Regions from separate parts of the Homo sapiens genome. Here region 2 is linked to region 1. Evidence: promoter capture Hi-C in human tissues and cell types (Jung and others, 2019). All regions are on one chromosome and are shown on one strand. The core of a region is centred on a gene start or on the middle of the fragment in contact, and the rest is flanking DNA. Distances in the headings are between cores, read along the strand shown. Region 1 holds the start of COL15A1 (collagen type XV alpha 1 chain). Region 2 overlaps TGFBR1 (transforming growth factor beta receptor 1).

The links. The method cuts DNA at HindIII sites, captures the fragments that hold promoters and counts their contacts. A contact is called where the count stands out against the background at its distance.
Region 2: a contact is called between a fragment that was not itself captured here and the fragment with the promoter of COL15A1 in region 1, in 9 of the 25 tissues and cell types used here (H1 embryonic stem cells, IMR-90 fibroblasts, adrenal gland and 6 more).

Annotation. Positions count from the first base shown.
Region 1 is chr9:98,942,086-98,945,852 of GRCh38, reverse strand. It overlaps COL15A1 (collagen type XV alpha 1 chain), which reads right to left and starts at 1,946. Exons shown (of 42, transcript NM_001855.5): 1 at 1,781-1,946; 2 at 1,603-1,691. The coding sequence starts at 1,791. COL15A1-AS1 (COL15A1 antisense RNA 1) reads left to right here and starts at 1,201. Exons shown (of 1, transcript NR_198999.1): 1 at 1,201-3,767. The HindIII fragment of the contact is 13,688 bases long and covers 1-3,767 here.
Region 2 is chr9:99,124,866-99,128,764 of GRCh38, reverse strand. All of the region lies in intron 1 of TGFBR1 (transforming growth factor beta receptor 1), which reads right to left. Among named protein-coding and RNA genes, the nearest start is that of TGFBR1, 22 kb to the right of the region's middle. The HindIII fragment of the contact is 6,051 bases long and covers 1-3,899 here.

The sequences.
Region 1 (3,767 bases), core at 697-3,196:
GATCCATCTTCCTTTTGGGAAACTGGAAGTTGCAGCAAAGTTCACAAAAGACCATGGAACCCAAAGTTGGCCTCTGCCACTGAGTTGGCAGGGCCCTATATCATATGCAAAATTGCAACTTTCTGACATGAGCCATGGGGCTGAGAAGCTAAAACTATACTCCAGCTGCCCTTTGATCTGCAATAAATGCCAGGCTGGACACTCTGGCAGGAAAAGCTATCATCGGATTTGGGTCTTGTTGCCCAGGAGACAATGGGCTGTCTTGGGCTTCTTCAGGCAAACAAAGAGTTAACCAAGGCCACCTTCTCAATCCCGTTTCCTTTGGGCCGACTAGAGGTTGTTTCCTAGACTTTCTGTTCCCTTATTCAATTGAAGATGTGTACTAATCCCCCAAATTCAAAGGGGAGGGGGTCAGAAGCTATAGAAAGCATGGCTCTTCTGCAAAACTGCATGGAGAAAGAGCTGAGCAAGGGCAAGAGCCTACAGACCTGGATTCAAGTCCTGGCTTTTGGACTGGCCACTTTCTAAGCTTCTCTCAACCTCAATGTTATAAAAATACCTGCATTGCGATGGGATTAATAGAAGCCCAAACCTCAGCACCGTGCAATATACCCTTGTAAAAAACCACACATGACCACTCCCTGAATCTAAAATAAAAATAAAAATACTTGCATTGCTTTCCAACACATAGTTACTGCAAGAATCAAGCAGTAATTTCTATCACTTATTTTGTGCCTAGTATATACTGGAATCATGGGAAGCACATTATTTCTAATTTCTCTAATATTCACAACATTTCTAGGAAGGTAAAATGGTCTAATTAATCGCCTTTTTCAGATGGGGAAACTGAGGCACAGAGCGATGAAATCCATTGCCCAAGATCACTCAGCCAGCCACAGTTCAAACCCAGGCAGTCTGACCTTAACCGAGGCCCATTTTAACTTAGGTCTACTTTAACTTATATCTTACTATTCAGCCAACCGCCTGAGTTCTGCTGGAGAAACTGAGGCCCGGGGAACGGAAGGGATCAGATCTCTGGCTTCCAGGCCACAGCTCTTTCCACCACCGGTGGAGCCACTGCCCATGATAGACGTGACCGCTTAGGTAACTCAGAGCTGGGTTAAGCAACCGAGCAATTCAGTTCCGTTATTTCTTGAGCAGCAAAAGCCCCAGATGTCCCTCCCGGTGTTCATGCTTCGCACCTGTGTGCGGAGAGGCACCAGACCTGCCCTTACCAGAAGCCAGCCAGCACGCACAACCTAAGCTGCTGGCGCTGGGTGCGCTGAGGCTGTTGGCGCTGGCGCTGGCGCTGTTTCTGAAGTCCCTCTCTGCCTAAGATTGGAGGCTCCGCACCCAGCTCAGACATCTCGGGTGCCCAGACAACGCTCCAACCGCCCCAGCTGCCCAGGGATCCCATTCACAGCTATAACCCCTGCACTGCCAGGAGGTAGCCGCCCGCGGGACCGCCAGTGCGCACTGAGTGGCAAGACTCCCTTTTATGTCCAGGAATGAGGCACGCATCGCAGCCGCGTCCGCCGCCAAAACCGACTTCCCCCACGGGCGCGGAGGCAGCCGGTGCCACCCTCCGACCGGGTTGCTTACCTGTCGCACCGCGGGTCTGGGTGACAGCAGGGAGGGGCGTGGAGACCGAGAGCAGCATCAGCAGACACCAGCACTGCCCGTTGTTCCTCCTGCAAGATGTGCCCGAGGGAGAAAAGGTGAGGCGGGCAAGAGTATTGGAGGGGCCCGGGACGCGAGGAAGCAGAGAAGCGGGTCTTACCTTGGTGCCATCTCGCGGGTCTGCGGAGCCCCGGAAGGCGCGCGGCTAGTCGAGCAGAGCGTTGGAGCTTAGCGGAGGACGAAGGGTCGCTGAGCGCTGGCCGCCGCGCTCGCCCTTCCTGCAGGGAACAAAGGCGGCGCTCGGCAGCGGCGGCGGCGGGCAGAATCCCGGCTCCCGGCCCGCGCCCCGAGTCACCCGCGCTCTGAAACCCGACTCCGCCGCGCCCTGCGCTCCCCCGCGCGCTGCGCACTCACGCCCGGGGGATACCGGCCGCCCCGGCCGCCTCCCCACGCCCCTTTCCCCCTCGACGGACGTGCGCTCGCCTCTGCTGCCTCCACCCGCGGCTGCCTTATGTAACCTGCGAGGAAAGCCCCGCGCCCGCGTTCGTTGGGGCAAGCGGGATGGGCTCCCTCCCGCCCTTAAGTCTGTCCTGTCGGGGCTGACCCGCAAGAAAGCACTCTTTCACAGCCGCTGAGGGAATCCTCTCCACAGCCCAGGAAGGCTGGAATCAGTGATTTCCTTATATGATGGACAAGGAGACTGAGGCTCAGAGAGGTGGAGCGTATGTCCCAAAGTCCCAAGCTGCACTGAGCTCCTAGATGCTGTGACCCACCCTGCACGCCTGACACATGGACCGACTTGAATGCCCAGGAGTGGACCTGCCTGGGGGCCATAAGGGATACATACAACTAAATGCAGCAGAGATAATCCTAATAAAAGTTTTTAATGTACTGGATTCCAGGGCTTTCCTCCCTATGTATACCTTGCCTGCCCCCTTCATCAGAATGTAAGCTCCAGGAGGGCTTATCTGTGCTTTGTTCCCTGCCTAAAACAGCTCAGGTAGTAGGAGATGCCAATAAACGCTGGATGAATGAAGGAGCACAGTCTTGGGTGAGGCATCACACCAGGCCCTGTGATGAGATGTGGGGGTCATGAACCAGGCTCTGCCTCCGAAAGCCCTCAGTGGGAGTGAGGCGGTTCAGGGCAGACTAACCCATCTGTGCAGAGCTTATCGCAGGGCACTGGGTAAACCCTCAATGGTCGCTTTTTATTAAGATTACCACCCGGCACATAGTGTGAGATCTTGGAGTGAGAAGAGGCACCGCTGAAGTTGGCTGAGACCTGGACAGCTCTGAAGCCAGGTAAACACTAGAAACCTCTCTTCCTGAAGCACCAAGTAGCCACAGTGGGCCGTGGCTCTGTGGTCAGTTCCTGTGTTTGATTCAGTTCCACTCTAGAGGATGGGTCACCTCTTGCCAAGTGAGTTAGCCTTGCAGAGGAGATGGCATGGGAATGGATATAAGCAACTAATGCTTACTTGGTGTGGATTATGTCCCAAGCCCTCTGCTAAATGCTTTAGCTGTGTTATCTCATTTAATACCCACAACAGCCATGGAAAGGTGATACTGTCATGATCCCCATTTCATAGATAAGAAAGCTGAGGTTCAAAACATTCCAAGGCTAATGAATGGCAGATGCAACACCCATGCTCCTCCCCACTCAGCCATGCTGCCTGCCAGTAAGCAAGAAGATTAGACTCACTCTCCACCCTCAAGAGCAAAATCGCAGTGGAGACACAGAGCACTCGGATATGAAAGGGTTCATGCCAGCCTGGGCGGTGAGGGCTCAGAGGAGGGATGGTTGGCCTGGAGATCAGGAGTCTGGGTTCCAGTCCAATGCTGGCCCTGGCTGCAGGGTGAAGTTGGGCAAATCTTGCCCTTGGTCTGATTTTTTATTTCTCCACCTGGATAATGGACACAACTACCTTGAATTGAATGGTGGCTGTGAGTCCCTTGATGGGACCACCTACTGGTACACCACAGTGCTCTCTGTCCATTGGATTTTGGCTTCTATTATTAGAGGTTGTGGATATTCTCATCGGGGCTGCGGCCTGTGGAGGGGGACAACTGGCAAGACAGAGGGGGGACCCTAGATCAACCTCTTAAGGGATTGAGGCTCCAGTAGCCAAAGCAGCTCGAGAACCAGG
Region 2 (3,899 bases), core at 790-3,289, 180 kb before region 1:
ATTATCACACAATTTCTATGCACTGTTTGTTGCTCTTAGAAGCAAAAAACAACTATTTGTTGCTCTTAGAAGTTTCAAATTATATTAAGAACCACATACACGTGGAAGCCCAAGGAAATGTAGCAACATTTGGACCCAGGTTTTTTCCTGAAGTTTTTTGCTTCCAAGTATAGAAAAATTTTGTTATGTTCAATTTCATCAAAGCAAGGCAAGCATTTGCCTTCCCATTAGAAACAAAGTACATTTAAATTTGTAATGGTTATACTTTTTTTTTTTTTTTTTTTTTTTTACCAGGCCCAAACTAAACATTCACATACTCCTCCTTTGAGAAGCAATGTGTGAAAACACTACCACCCATTAAGTGTAGGCTAATGCCATTTCAGTGGCTTTCTGGATAATGGAGTAACGGAAACAGATTTGTACTGAGCCAGACACTCTCTATTCCCCTTGGTGCAAACCCTAAAAAAGACATGTATATTCTGGCCAGGACTGGGGCATTCTCTTAGGGAAGCCAAGCAGACTACACCTGTAACAATACATACATGCTCCAACCACATAGGCAACCTAACTACAGAAATGACTGGCAGCAAAATACTAGCTTCATGCCCACTTGTATCTACTTGATCTTTATGGCTCAACCCCAGGAGTGACCTCTTTAGGGAAGCCTTCTAATTATCACCAACACCTTCTCATACACACAGATACACCTTCAACCATGCTCTCTGATGAAGTTAAGTGCTCTCCAAAACACATACTGCTTACCAGAATTGCTAGTTTTGTTTTTCTTTCTCCTATGAAACTGTAAACTCCTTGAGGCCAGATACCTGTATTAGTCATTTCTGTCAATCTGCCATCTAACACCATGCCTCATGCACAGCAGCATTCAAAAAATACTTGTTGAATCACAATGATAGAATGTGTGCATAATTTCACCATGGTCACATGAAATTGCAAAGCACAGACATGTTCTTAAATCCAAACATTCCAATTACTTGTTGGCAAAGGAATAAAAAGGAGTCTAGGTACACGGAATGGCCATCTATGACGTGAACAGCAAGGTCCACTCTACCTAGAAAAGGAGTGGCTAGGCAGACAGGGGCAGGATAGACAGAGCTAACTCCCTGAAGAGCTAACTTGCTGTACAAGAAAGGGTTAACTCAGCAGGACTGAGTTGCTCAAACCCTGCATATTCCCAAGAAAGACTTGTCTTCAAAACTGGCCTTGGCTGGCTCCTGGTAGATGAGCTCTGAACCTTTGGAATATTCTCCCTGATAAGAATATTTCTGTATGCCTGAGGCCTTGGGTCACATGGTACCAATTTTGTCAGACAGCTTATTCTAACAATGTGATTTACAGTGAACACCTATTACTGCTGGGGGGCCGGGTAGGAGAAGTCTGAGGGGCTGAAGCCTGTCATGCAGATGCTGCAAGCCTAAGTGACTGACCAACAGTAAAAACCCTGGACACCAAGGCTCAAGCGAACTTCCCTGGTTGACAACTTCGTGCATGCTGTCACACATTGTTGTTGAGAGAATTAAGGCCATCTATGCTATGCCACTGGAATGGGACACCTGGAAACCTGTGTCTGATTTCTCCTAGACTTCACCCCGGGTGCCTTTTGCTTTTGCTGATGTTAACTGTATGGTTTTGCTGTAATACACTATAACCATGACTGTAACAGCTTTTCTGAGTCCTGTGAGTCCTTCTAGCAAACCAAGTCTGAGGATGGCCCTGCAGACTCCCAACTCACTTGCTCAACTCAAATTCAGGAATGTCAGGTTCTCCCTCAAGTAGCTGTTTCTTGGTTGCTGGCTTAATTCACATACTTGTCTATTATCTTTACAGACCAGTAAAGTTTTACCTTAATCATTATTAAAAACGCTTTCTTTATTCATAGACAGGTCAGCTATTTGCTTCCTAAGTATGAAAGAAACTCAAGGAAATGACAAGAAAGAGACACAATCGTAATAAAGACTGCTAAAAGAGACAGTAATTATTCATGACAAGGTGTGATGGTGATGGCTGTCTGGGTATGATTTCCTAAGGAGGAATTCTGAACCAGGAATTCATGGACTGGCTTCAGAGGTACATGAATCCCATAAAACTATAAGCCAAATGTTATATGTATTTACATTTTCAAGGAAAAGCTTTCCAAGTCAATCACAATGGAGTCTGTGACCCACAAAGCATTAAAACTACCACCGAAGGACATTGTCATAATTCTCTCCTAAATCCTCTTTACTCATGATTAGTCATTCAACCCATGTTTTCTAAGCATTACTTTTATCAGTTACTCTACCAAAAGCTTAGCACACAAAGATTAATAACTAATGGTCACAGCACTTGAAGAGCTCCAATGACAAGTGAAGGAGAACACTGTAATACAATGTGGTAACCGCTATACATAAAAAATATTGCCCTGAATACTCTCCCAGTTCTCAGATCACCATGGCTCCCCTATGCTGATGAGATAAGGGCTAAACACCTAGCCTAACAAGACTTTTAGTTTGGGGTTCCAATTTACTTCTCACATGGCAAATGCTATCTAGGGCCACACACCTCTCACCATTATAATAATAATGTCTTTCATGACCTTGGTCTTTACATATACCATCTCTCTGTCTAGTTTAAACCTATCTTCTTATCTGACTCATCCTTTAAGACCCTATTTCAACAGGATCTTTGCCATTATGTGCTCTAAACCTCGCCCTTACCTTCACAATAATTGGTATCTCCTTTCAATATGTTCCATAGTGCTCTTTGCATACCTTTAGAACAGCACAAATCAATCTATTTATAGCTTGCTGTTAAAGGGTCTTTCATTGCCTCAGGAAGGGCCAAGCTTGTTTTGTTTTTCACATCTCTGAATCCTGGCTCCTTAGATAGTGATCAGAAAAATATTTGCTAAAACAATGTCTCCCAAATATGCTGGGAGAAAAAAAGGATGTATAAGTTGGGTACAAGGTTTGAGAACATATTTTCACTTCAAAGATAATCTAAAAACAAGGATAAACATTCAAGATCATGAGTAGCCACTGTCTCAACACTGGCACTAGGCTTTCACTGCTGCTTCTTCAGCTGTGTGAAGATCCCCTTCAGGCCAAATGTCCTTGTGGCACACTACACACAGCATAAGTTTCATGGTCATTGTAAAAGAAAGAGTAAAAAATAAAGGGAATTTGAATCGACCATATGGCAATACAGGCATGGCATGCATATTCAAAAGCCAATAGCCTAACAGCCAATACCATATATGTACTTTATTATATGCAAGTGCTATATGGGTCCTACATGTGTAGTACAATTTGCAAACATTTGTTAGCAGTAAATATAATTGTAGGTATGCAATGTTTTTCCATTCTCATTTCCAGCAATAACTGGTTTAGAAAATCATTTAATGAAGATTTCAATAATGTCAAGATATTAACCTTATCTTCCAATGAACAAAATGGATGACATCTCAGTAAAACTTATAAGCCTGTATTTGAGGAATGCTTGCTGTCAAGTGTTTTGGTTAGGTATGATGTCTCATCCTGAACTTACCAACAAGGCCTTGAAGTCATTAATGCCCTCCTGCATAACATTACTGATGAGAAGAGGCACTACTCACAGCTTTTATTATCACTGAAGTTAAAATACAGAAACACATTTAAAATGGAATTAGACCTAAAGCTATTTTTTTCTACTGCAAAACCTAAACATCATCTGTCACATGGAATAATTGTATTCATTTGAATTTTGTTTTTTTTTGTAGTTGTCTTTGTATTTAATTTGCAGATTTGGTTTATAGTGGTGTATGAGCCAAGAACATAAGGGTTTTATATCTAGTTTCATGTCTACAGAATTTAAGTAACATTATGAAAAATACACTCTGTACTTCTCCTTTCAAAGAGGTCATT